2 separate regions of the Homo sapiens genome follow, and region 2 is linked to region 1. Evidence: promoter capture Hi-C in 16 types of primary human blood cells and fetal thymus (Javierre and others, 2016). All regions are on one chromosome and are shown on one strand. The core of a region is centred on a gene start or on the middle of the fragment in contact, and the rest is flanking DNA. Distances in the headings are between cores, read along the strand shown.

The links. Contacts are between HindIII fragments. The CHiCAGO score rates a contact against its expected background, and 5 or more counts as called.
Region 2: a contact is called between a fragment that was not itself captured here and the fragment with the promoter of TSPAN2 in region 1, in 2 of 17 cell types (naive CD4 T cells and total B cells). The highest score is 6.7, in naive CD4 T cells.

Annotation. Positions count from the first base shown.
Region 1 is chr1:115,087,303-115,093,285 of GRCh38, reverse strand. TSPAN2 (tetraspanin 2) reads left to right here and starts at 3,783. Exons shown (of 8, transcript NM_005725.6): 1 at 3,783-3,922. The coding sequence starts at 3,854. The HindIII fragment of the contact is 10,227 bases long and covers 1,274-5,983 here.
Region 2 is chr1:114,982,418-114,988,270 of GRCh38, reverse strand. It overlaps SYCP1 (synaptonemal complex protein 1), which reads right to left. Exons shown (of 32, transcript NM_003176.4): 30 at 3,403-3,546. Among named protein-coding and RNA genes, the nearest start is that of TSHB, 44 kb to the left of the region's middle. The HindIII fragment of the contact is 1,624 bases long and covers 1,044-2,667 here.

The sequences.
Region 1 (5,983 bases), core at 2,534-5,033:
AAATCAGAACAGTGTTTGCCTTTAGGAGGGATGTGGGCATAGATTGACTGGGAAGGGTTATATGAAAGCCTGAAAGCTTCCTGGGGTGACAGTAATATTCTATATCTTAATAGGATTCGGGGTTAGAAAGGCAAAAGCATTGTCAAGAATTATTAAATAATATACTTAAAATGTGTACATTTCATTGGGGTAAATTTTAGAAAAATAGTAAATAGATATTTGAACTCTAGGTAATGTTATGCATGCTCAAGAGTTTAGGAGTGAAACATACTGCCTACAATTTATTTGGAAATAAATAAAAAAAAATAGATTGAGAAATGGACAGATGTATAGATAAGTAATGCAACCAAAGCAAAATGTTTATTGTAGCATCTAGATGGTGAGTATATGGTGCTCCTTGCCCAACTATTTCAAATTTTTTGTACGTTTGAAAATATTCATAATAAAATATTGGGAAAAAATGCAAGAGAAAATATTTTTGTAACTATTTTAGGGCATGTGTGGGCAACAGTTTTAAGACCACTGGCTTCTATTTATCACCATTTGCTGAAGAATCTTTACCCTAAACTTACCATCCAAACCTTTCTCCAGAATCCAATCATATTTCCACATCATCTGGATTTCCCACCATATCTAAAACTCAGCAGATCCAAAAATGAATGTATTGTCTTCCCTCTACCAGTCAGGAATATCTTTAGCTACATGTAACAACACAAAGTCAAACAAAAAGAGGGTTATTTTTCCTATATAATAAGAAATGTGGAGTTAGGTAGCTGCTGGTATTGGTTCAGCAGTTCCACAATGTCCTAGCTGGAAGGTCTGCAATTGTCTTGCCCTTTCTTCATAGTCACAAAATGTTCTAGCACTTCAAGCATCATGTCTGAGTTCAAGACAGGAAAAAGAGAAAAGGGAGCAATGCCAGTGACAGTTTAAAGGCTAACTTCCTTATTATGTCATTTAATGTAGCCCTGTACTTTCTTATAGTAATATACCCTTGAAAATGTATGGAATGCCTTTCAGGCACAATACATACATATATGTTGATGATGGCAATTCCTCATGTTGGAAGTGGGACCTTGTGTGAGGTATTGGATCGGAGTGGATCCTTCATGAATGGCTGGATGCCATCCTCCCTATAATGAGTGAGTTCTTGCTCTGAGTTCACATGTGATATCTGGTTGTTTAAAAGAGTGTGGAACTCCCCACTTCTTTTGCTCCCACTCTCGCTGTGTACACACTGGCTCCCTGTGACCTTCCACCACAACTGAAAGCTTCCTGAGGCCTCACCAGAAGCAGATGTCAGCACTATGCTTCCTGTACAGCCTGCATAACTGTGAGCCAATTAAATCTCTTTTCTTTAGAGATTACCCAGTCTCAGGTACTACTTTGTAGCAACACAAGAATGGACTAACACACATGCGTCCACACACATACACATACATGTACACAAAAACCTAAACCTCAATTGGCTTCAGAAATGGCTAACTCAGTTATGGCGTAATATCACCTATGACTCTGGTTTTTTCAACTTCCTGCTTTGCTGTTTTCAATGTTGGATCTCTCCTCAGGCTGGTATGAAGATGGATATAGCAACTCTATGTATACCATCCAGATCCAACAGCTTCAAGAGGAAGAAGACCATCTGGCCCCTCAGTAGACACCACTCCCATCCCATTAGTCAGGATGCTTGTCAATTTGTTTCCTGAACTAACTACAAGGGAAATGGGATTACCTTCGCCTATTCCTCTCAAGGGTCAGCTTCCCTTAAGACATACAACTTTGTGAAAGGGCGACTGGGCAAGTCTATACTAAAGATCTGAAACTGTTATGTTGGACAGGCAACCACCATCTGTCTCTAATACATGTGTGCTAAAATCGTAGCATGAAAAAAACAAACAATAGATGTATATGTTACAATAGGGGTTCTCTTCCCTCTATATAATCTCTAGACATATTTTGTCTTAGAGATGTAAAATTCAACGATATATTTAAAGTATAATATCATTGTTCATTCAGTTGATTTACTGAACGCCTTCTATGTACCAGACACTACTCTTTAACTTAGTTCTTTTCCTTTATACTAAAACAGAGGTGACAGATATAGAACTATAAGTGTTTGATTGAAGCTAATGATTCACTTCTCTCTGCATACCTAATGACTTCCATCTTTGTCTTTATTTCATTGTTGGAGACATGTTTATTACTAGAATCAGCACTTTCATTTTTCTGTCTTTGACTCGTTTTTATAAATGAGTCGATATTCAAACAAATGTCCAAAGACACAGAGGTAGGCAAAGATGGCAACATGGTAGAAACTGAATGGTTGACTGATAAGAGTGTGATACAATAATACTAACCCTTATGCAGTACTTAATCTGTGCCAGGCACTGTTCTAGGCACTTCACAAATACTAACTCATTTATCTTCACAACTCTATGAGGGGAGTACTATTACCTCCATGTTGCACGTGGGGACACTCGGGGCCAATGACAGTTTGGCACATTGGTCAGCCGACTGAAAGCTGTGATTTGGCTCCTGCCTTCCTGACTCACTCTGCCCCCACCAGGCTTCACTCGGGCTAACTGCGGTTCTCAGAACTCCCTTGGAGGCCTTGTTCTCTCCAGCTCTGTGCTTTTGCGCATGCTGTCTTCCTGGACTGATCTTTTCCGCCTGGGCTCCGTCTTCTAGACCAGATCAGGCCCCTCTCCTTAGCAATGCCTTTTCTGGTTAAGGCAGTCAGGCCAGGCACACCTGTCTAGCACCCAGCCCTTCTCTCCTCACCCTATTTGCTTACAGATCTGTCTCCAACACCAGAGACTGTGGTTCTGGGCCTGGCTGTCTCCTCATTGTTGAGTCCCTGGGGCTTGCTACTATGTCTGGCCTATAATAGGCACTCAAAGTTTTGCTGAATTTATGCATAAGCTCTCCGAATTTTGCTTTCTTGTCTCCCCCATACTGTCTGACACCACATATTGTAGACACTTAGTCAATGGAAGTGGGAGTCTGATTTTCCTGCCAACAGCCTAACTTAATAAAAACAAAGCAAAACAAAAACCGCCCCCTTCCCCTTTCTCCCATCTCCACATCATAATTAAGATCCCGAAAATTTGGGATCCTTCCAAGCCCTCCGATCAGTGGAACCCGGCAGGACATGAGAAGTCAGACTCCCTCCACTGGCCGGCTGGGTTGAGGGCAGCCCACAGGACTCAGGGCGCCGCCTCCCGCACCCTCTCTCAGTTCTTGCCTATTAAGGTAAGAGTCCCCCGAGGAGGGGGGAGGGGCCGGAGGGAGGGTCCCCTAGAAGCTGCTTGTGTGCTTGCTCCGCGCCGCGGAGCCGCAGCCCTGGACACTCAGTCAGGTGCCCCGCGACTGGTCCTGCCAGCTTCGGGGCAACCTCCGACCCCACTTAGCTCTTCTACCCGAGGTCACCTTCCTAGATTTCCATAGCCACGAGACCAAGTGCTTATCCCTCAAGCATCGCCCGGGCCTCAAACCGGTCTCCGCACAGGGCGCTGATTAAATGGGTCCCCAGTCCCCGGTGGGCGCTCCCGCCCTGCAGGTGCTCCGATAGCCGGCGGCGGTGCGCCCACTGGAGGGAAGGAAGGTGGTCCCTGGGTCCGGGAGAAGAGCGAACGTGCTCCCTCGGGCTGCTCGATCTCCACCCGCTGGCGCCCCCACCCGTCGCCAGCCACGCCGCTTGGGGTCCACGCGCCCCTCCCCGCCGGGCCCCGCCCCGCCCCCCGGAGGCCCCGCCCCGGTCCTCCCCGCTCCGCCCCCTCCCCGCCGGAGCCTGCCGCTCCCCGCGCTCGTAGCGCGGGCCTGGGGACTGGGGATCCCGCCGCCGGGCCGCAGCATGGGGCGCTTCCGCGGGGGCCTGCGGTGCATCAAGTACCTGCTGCTTGGCTTCAACCTGCTCTTCTGGGTGAGACCAGGAGCCGGGAGGGCCGGTCAGGGCAGGGGGCCGGGTGGCGGGCGCGGGGCCGGGGTCCCCGAGCTGCTGACTGCGGCGTCCGAGTCGCGCTCGTGGGGAGGGCTGGGTGCTCAAACGCGGAGGCGAGGAGAAGGCAAACAAAGAGGGAGGGGAGGGATGGAAGGGAGAGAACGGGAAGACAGAAGGTTGATCAATGAGAAATGGTGAGAAGGGGAGAGACACCGTGTGGCTCTTTCCTGGAAGGAACCCCCACCTGCCTTGGTTTTTATCTCCCAGCTAGTGACCCCAGGTGCGGGGACCCAGCCTCTCCTCACCTCCGGAGGACTTGGGTCCCTGTTCCCCTCCAGTCTCCCGTGCACACACCCCCTTTTCACTCTGCCTACCAGCTGGAACCAGGGCCTGGCCAGGGTGATGGGAGAGAAACCCCTGCCCTGGGGCTGCCTGGGGTGGTGCTCCATTCGAGTGTGTGGACACTGTACCTGGCTGTGATGGTTTTGTTTAGGAAATTGGAGATAGGAGTGAAAATTGTGGTGGGGGGGCGTCGTCCTTTTTCTGGGCATCAGGGTAAGAGTACCCCTGGGTGAGAGGAGGTGGTGGGTTCTCTTCTGAGAAGGGGATGGGGAATGGAAGGGCTTCTAAAGGGCAGCAGCAGCTCTCCACAACCCCCAGCCGCAGCCTCTGCTAAATACTAATTCTCCCAGAGATGATCTCATTCAACTTTGCAGGGTTTGATTGAACTGACAGCGTTCCCAGGATTCATGGTTCACAGAGAGATAGGATCTTGACCCTTGTCTCCTATATTATCGAGACAGGGATACAGCTAGACCAGACCTACATCCCTGGATACCCTGTCCCAGGGCCTGCAGGACTGTGAGACAAGGTCTGAAAATTGTCTTTTCTGCACATTTCCTCTTGGGCTTTCTTAAGAGAATGTCAGCCAGTGTAACTGCTCAGCTAGACCCTGAGGGGAAACATTGGATAAAGAGGTTTGAGAGCAGCCAGGGCCTGGGTGCTTTGAAACTACCAGGTTGGAGGAGGTGGCTGTCCTATCTGCTCTGGGGGACGTTGTCTTCCCATGATTGCAACTAATTAATTATTGAATGATGGGCTCCTCTTTTGTCTGTCAATCCATTAGCCCAGATGCCTGGGTGACTTCAGCAACTCCAAGCTCTTCAGTATCCTTCAGCAGTGGAAGGTGTGAAGGAGGTACCTCCTCGACATCCCCTGAACTTTAAAGAGACACATGGCCTTTGTACACGTGGGGATTTACATCAAGCATACTATAGGGAGAGGCGTTTCTGAAGACCCTTTATGTTGTATTTTTTAGGAATCTGGCTTAATTTCAGAAGCTGTTAATTATAGATGTCACGCCACAGTGACAACCTTCATTCTCACTGCTTATGAATTCAAAGCCTTATGAAGTTTTAAGCCTGAGGAGGAATTCTTAAGCTGGGTTCAGTGCTTATTTAGTGGCTGATATTGTACCAGCCTTTCCAGTGATAGCTGGAAGGATTCATTGAATGTTTTCAATGTGTCAGGGACAGTGCTAAGCATATTACTTTCATTATTACACATAATCCTCACAAGAGTCCTGATATACATATACTATTATTATCCCCATTTTTTACAGATGAGGAAACAGGCTCAAATTGGTTAAGTCACCTAAGATCACACAGCTAGTGAGTGGCAGGGATGGTATTCAAACTCAGCCTACCTTCTCTTTTTTTTTTTTTTTTTTTGAGACGGAGTCTCACTCTGTAGCCCAGGCTGGAGTGCAGTGGCCCGATCTCCACTCACTGCAAGCTCCACCTCCCAGATGCACGCCATTCTCCTGCCTCAGCCGCCCAAATAGCTGGGACTACAAGCACCCTCCGCCACGTCTGGCTAGTTTTTTTGTATTTTTAGTACAGACGGGATTTTACCGTGTTAGCCAGGATGGTCTCCATCTTCTGACCTCATGATCTGCCTGCCTCAGCCTCCCAAAGTGCTGAGATTACAGGCGTGAGCCACCGCGCCTGGCCGCCTACCTTCTCTTAAGCACTGTGGTACATT
Region 2 (5,853 bases), core at 606-3,105, 100 kb after region 1:
TCTTCATATAACTCTTTCCACCTCTCTCTCTCTTTTTCTCTCTCTGTCTACCCCCCCACCTCTTCCTCTCTCCCTCTTCTCCTTCTGGAATTCCTACAATGTATATATTGGCCCAGCTGATGGTGTGCTACAAGACTCTGAGGCTCTGTTCACTTTTCTTTTCTTTTCTTTTTCTTTTTTTTTTTTTTTTGCCGTTTATCAGACTCAGTAACTTCAATTGTCTATCTTTACGTTCACCAATTCTTTTTTCTGCTTACTCAAATCTGCTTTTAAATCCCTCTAGTGGGTTTCTCATTTCGGTTATTGTACTTTCAGTTCCAGAGTTTTTTTCTGGTTCTTTTTATAATTTCTAACTCTCTATCAATATTCTCATTTTATTCACACAAAATTAGGGTTTTTTTTTCTTTGTCCATGTCTTCCTTTAGCAATTTGAGCTACTTTAAGACAGCTGTTTTGAAGTCTTTGTCTAGTAATTCCAATGTCTGAGCTTCCTCAAGGATAATTTCTGTTGGTTTGTTTTGTTCCTTTGAATGGATCATATTTTCCTATTTATTTGTATGCCTTATGATTTGTTACTATTGGTCTTTTGGTTTAAAAAAATTTTTAGAGACAAGGTCTCACTCTGTCACCTAGGCTGGAGTGTAGTGACATAATCATAGCTGACTATAACTTTGAACTCCTGGGCTCAAGTGATCCTTCTACCTCAGCCTCCTGAGTAGTTAGACTACAGGCCATGTGCCACCACACCTGGCTAATTTTTTAAATTTTTGTATAGAGAGGGTCTCACTGTTGCCCAACTTAGTCTCAAACTCTTGGCCTCAAGAAACCTTCCTACCTTGGCCTCCCAAAGTGGTGAAATTACAGGCGTGAGCTATTGTGCCTGGCCCTTGTTGTTGAAAACTGGACATTTGAATATTATACTTTGGTAACTCTGGAAATAAGATTTTCCCTCTTCCCCGGGATTTTCTGTTTTTGTTTGTGTTCTGTTTTCTTTTGTTTTACTGTTGAAAGTCTGTGCCAGGGATCAGCCTGAGATAAAAGCTTATGGTCTTCTCCCGTCTTTTTTAAGCCTCTTTGCTTAAACATGTGCTATAGCTAAATTCCTTTTTGCTTTGCTTTTGAATATCCTAATCCTTAAATGCCTGGCTTCCCAAAGGGTAAAGATGGAAAAAGAGAAAAGGAAAAAAAAAAAAAGATAGATGTGCTTCATGTAAATTCCTGGAAGTTGCTTCAGCCAGTGGGGGTTGAAACACTGAACTCTGATGTTTGAAGGACAAGTCCTATTGCCCCCTCTGGCACCAGCAAGTCACTCAGGGAACATGAGCATGGCTTCCTGACACAGGACTGTAGGCTGGGGAGACTGGTAGCTGCTATCATATTTTAGGCTGAAATCAACCTAAATTAACTGCAATTTACCAGCTAACCTTTCCCCTGGAAGCTATAAACATTCAAATAAGACTGCATACTTATAAAATAGTTACTTCAGACAGTTTCTGCCAGTATACTTTTTGTCTAGGTAGAGAGATGGATTCCTGGCACTTCCTACTCCACCATCTTCCTGAGGTCATGCTCAACAACCCATTTTTAAATCTTAATTTTTATAATTTGAATGTTCAAAATTTAACTACATAAGCTAAGAAAATTACAAAATGACTAATAGGTTCATATAATAATTATAACCAGGAAACTGATTGTGAAATGTGTTTTTAGACTAGTTTGAACAATTGTGTGCAATTCTATAATACTGTAATATGTTTATTGTGTTGCAAGTTTGTGATGCTCCTTTTAGAAATGAAATGAATCATGTTGAATCATTCTGAATCTCAGATCAGCTAAGAAATTGGCCTAAACTCAAACTGCTAGAATAATAACAGGGATTACAATCCTAGAATGTTTAATTCTAAAGCTCATTTTCTTTCTAATTCTCATTACATTTTTATATATCTGGACTACATTTTGAATTGGCAGTTATCATGTGCAATGACTTACATAGTCTATGAAGCCAGACTGTGTTCAAATTTTGGTTCCATGTCTTACTAACTATGTGATCTTGAAAAATATACTTGTGTGACTCAGTTTCCTCATCTGTAAACTGGAAAGAACAGTATATACTGTGATCTCTTAGTATCCATGGGGGATTGGATCCAGGATCCCTCCATGCATGCCAAAATCTGTGGATGTTTATGTAAAATGATATAATATTTGCATGTAACCTATGTACTTCCTCCTGTATACTTTAATCATCTCTAGGTTACTTATAATACCCAATACAATGTAAACACTATATAAATAGTTATGTTGTATTGCTTTCTTATTTATATTATTTTCTACTGAATTGTTATTTATTTTTTTTTTTTTCAAATTTTTTGGCCTGTAGTTGGTTGAATACACAGATGTAGAACCTGTGAATACAGAAGGCCAACTGTATTTCTAAAGGCTGGAATTGTTATAAGAAATAATTAAAGTAATCTTCGTTGTATAAAGTGTTTACAATAGTACCTGGTTCACAGTTTTAATTGTTAAGATGTTGATAATTATCTATAAAACAAAGGGGTTCTGAAGTAGGGACTCTATATGTTAACTTCAATATTTAGGGTTTTAAGACTTCAACTACTCATTATTCCAGAAAAAAATGAAAATAGAAGGTCCCAAAGTAGTAGAAAAGCTTGAAGGATCTTCTAGTTATAAGTGGGAATAATAAAACAAATGAATTTAACTGGGATTTTGTCATTAAGAATTTTTGGTGCATTGCTCCATTTACTCTGGTATGGTTCACCTTTTTAAAAAAATTAAATGAATCTAAGCTTCATTATTCTCAATAAACCATTATTATGCCTTCAGAAAACAGTGGTATATGTGAATGGGAGTAATTAGTGATACAAAGTGCTAGAGGAAATAGCCTGCTTAAACATGCTGTCCTTAATACATTAACTTCTTTAGAGTGATGGAAATGTTATAGTTGTCAACCAATACCTTGATATAAATATCAACCAGTGATGTAAAAGGAGCATGTATAATATGCAAAATAGAGGGGACGCCTAAATAACAGATTTGGCACAGTAAAATATTCACTCCATCTCTCTTTTTAAAAATATAGTAAGAACTCCTTTATGACATTCTTCTAGAAAACAAGACAATGATTAATCATATCGTATGCCCATTGTGCTATATCAAGTATTTTCAAAGTGCCAGGTTTTCTGAAATTTACAGGGAAATTATTTGAACCCTAATTTTTCTGAAATGCTGCAAAAGCACAAGGATCTGCATTTTAGCAGAGCTCCACTGTATATCAGTATTGCAATGGTAGGTACTATGTAAATATATTATACATGTATATCAAGGAAAATAGTATACAAATAAGTAATATAAATAAATACTAAATATTATTTGTAAAATTTTTACCAAAAGATCAGTAGTTTCTGAACTATCTGAATTAATATCAAATTCAAAGGCCATTTTTCTCTTTTTTTTACTTTCTTCAATGGGTATATTCAAGTTTTCTCTTTGCTGTAGTTTTGGTTTTGTTGGTGTCTTCACTGTATATGCCTATCCAAAAATAAAAAACCATACATTATCATATCAAATAAAATATGCATTATTAATAAAGGGTTTCACAAATAATTTTAAGGCAATTTGAGTCCTTAGCAATCAGAAACCTCCATTATTATTGGCAAGTATATGAGGCAAAAATTTTGGATAAGAATTTAATTCAAATGTTTTTGATACTATAAGTTGTCTTTCTTCAAAAATTTACAATGGTAGACTTTCTCTGCCTTTCCTTTAACTTGCTGAAGAAAATAAGAAAGAGAAAGAGTGAAACAGAGAGACAGACACACTCCAGATTCAGCAATCAACAATCTTAGGGGCCTTAATATTTCTAATCATGATCGAAAAAAATAACTGAGTGAGCTTTGCTCTCTCTACAAAACACCTTATTACATTGTGAGAAAATATGCTTGCTTATTTTTATATTGGTAAAGTAATTCACATTAGTCAATGTTTCACATTCTATACTATCTTGTAATTTTTATAATTTGTAAAAGTATCTTTAAAAAGTAAGGTCAAAAGCCAAGTACAGTGGCTTATGCCTGTAATCCCAGCACTTTGGAAGACCAAGGCAGGAGGATTGCTTGAGGCCAGTTCAAAACTAGACTGAGCAACATAGCAAGACCCCAACTCTAAAATTTTTTTTAATTAAAAAAACATAGCCAGGTATGGTGGCCCATCCCTATAGCCTCAGCTACTCAGGAGGCTGAAGCAGGAGAATTGCTTGAGCCAGGAGTTCAAGGTAGCAGTGGGCCATGATCATGCCACTGCAGCCCAGCCCAGGCAACAGAGCAAAAACAAAAATTAAATTAAATGTAATTTAAAAAGTTAAGGTCAGAGACATCAGTACAAATGGCAGAGTAATGAGCTCTAAAAATTCACTCCTCCATAAAAGCCATAAAAATATTGGTAAAAACTTGTCGGAATCAGTTTTTTTCAGAACTCTGGAAATTAACCAAAGGCTTGCAGCCACCTGGAGAGTGCTTATTCTTTAAAAAAATAAAATAAAATGGCTAAACCTCTTTAGGAAACCCAAACTTCGTGGTGTCTTAACTTCCCCAGTCCCATCCCCTGCTCTAGCTCTATGTTATCCTTAAAGAATAACAGCCCACGTTCCTGGGGCAGCCTGGCAACCACCAGACAGAACAGAACAGAACAGAACTGAAGCTCTTTCAAAGCTTTATTCCCAAAGAATTGTCAGTATTTGATTTGTCTGGTGAGTCTCTGCAAGATCCCACTTACAAGGCTGATAGCTGATTACATTCAACCTGAGGGCTCACTAGTGAAAAAATGCCTTCTCCTTGGTGTGTGTGTGAAGTAGGGGGCAGAATTTGTCAAAAACAACAAACGTTTTAACTTTGCAGCAACGTGAAGCAGTGATGAATAGTTGGGACAAACAAAAGACTAACCAAAAACCTTGAAAGAAAAGCTAGGAAATGAAATATCCATGGGGAAGCTTTGAAAAGCCTTGATATATTCCTGGAAATATAGAAGGCCACGCATATGTGTAGGGCTATCTATAGGCTCAGGAAGGTCCTGAAAAGGCCCTAAGTTTTCACCACTGGCTAATCTTGAGATTCTCTACAAGCAGGAATGGAAAGCTAAGGCAGAGTTGTCAACTACCTGGCTAAGTGTTGAAAGCATGCCCTTATACACATATAATAGAGACCTTTGACAAAGATTGGGAAATTTATTCATTCTAGGCATTTGAAGAAATTTGTGTCCAAACATTAGCTAAAAACTAAGCTAATCAAGGAGAACCTTTAGTGGCACTCACAACAAAAAATACAAACTTTACAGAATTAGTCTAGAAAAGTCACAAAACAAACAATAACTACAACAAGTAGCAACAACAAATCATGGGAATAGGAGAGAATCTGATTTCCAGAGTTGTTATATTTTTAAATGGCCAGTTTAAACAAAAAATATGAGACATGCAAAGAAAGAAGAAAGTATGGCCCAAATAGAAAAGTAAAAGAACAAACAACAGAAACTCTCCCTGAGGAAGCCTTGACATTGGACTTAACTAGACAAAGATTTAAAGTCAGCTATTTTAAATATGTTCAAAGAGCTAAAGAAAATTATGTCAAAGAAATGAAGAAAAGCATGAAAACAACATCTCACTAAATGGAATATCAATAAAAAGAAATAAATTATCAAAAGAACCAAATAGAAATTCTGGAATTAAAAAATACAATAGCTGAAATGAAAAATTTACTAGAAGGGCTCAATAGCAGATTTGGGCAAGCAGAAGAAGAATCCATGAGCCTGAATATAATTCAACTGATATGGAATAGAAAAAAAATG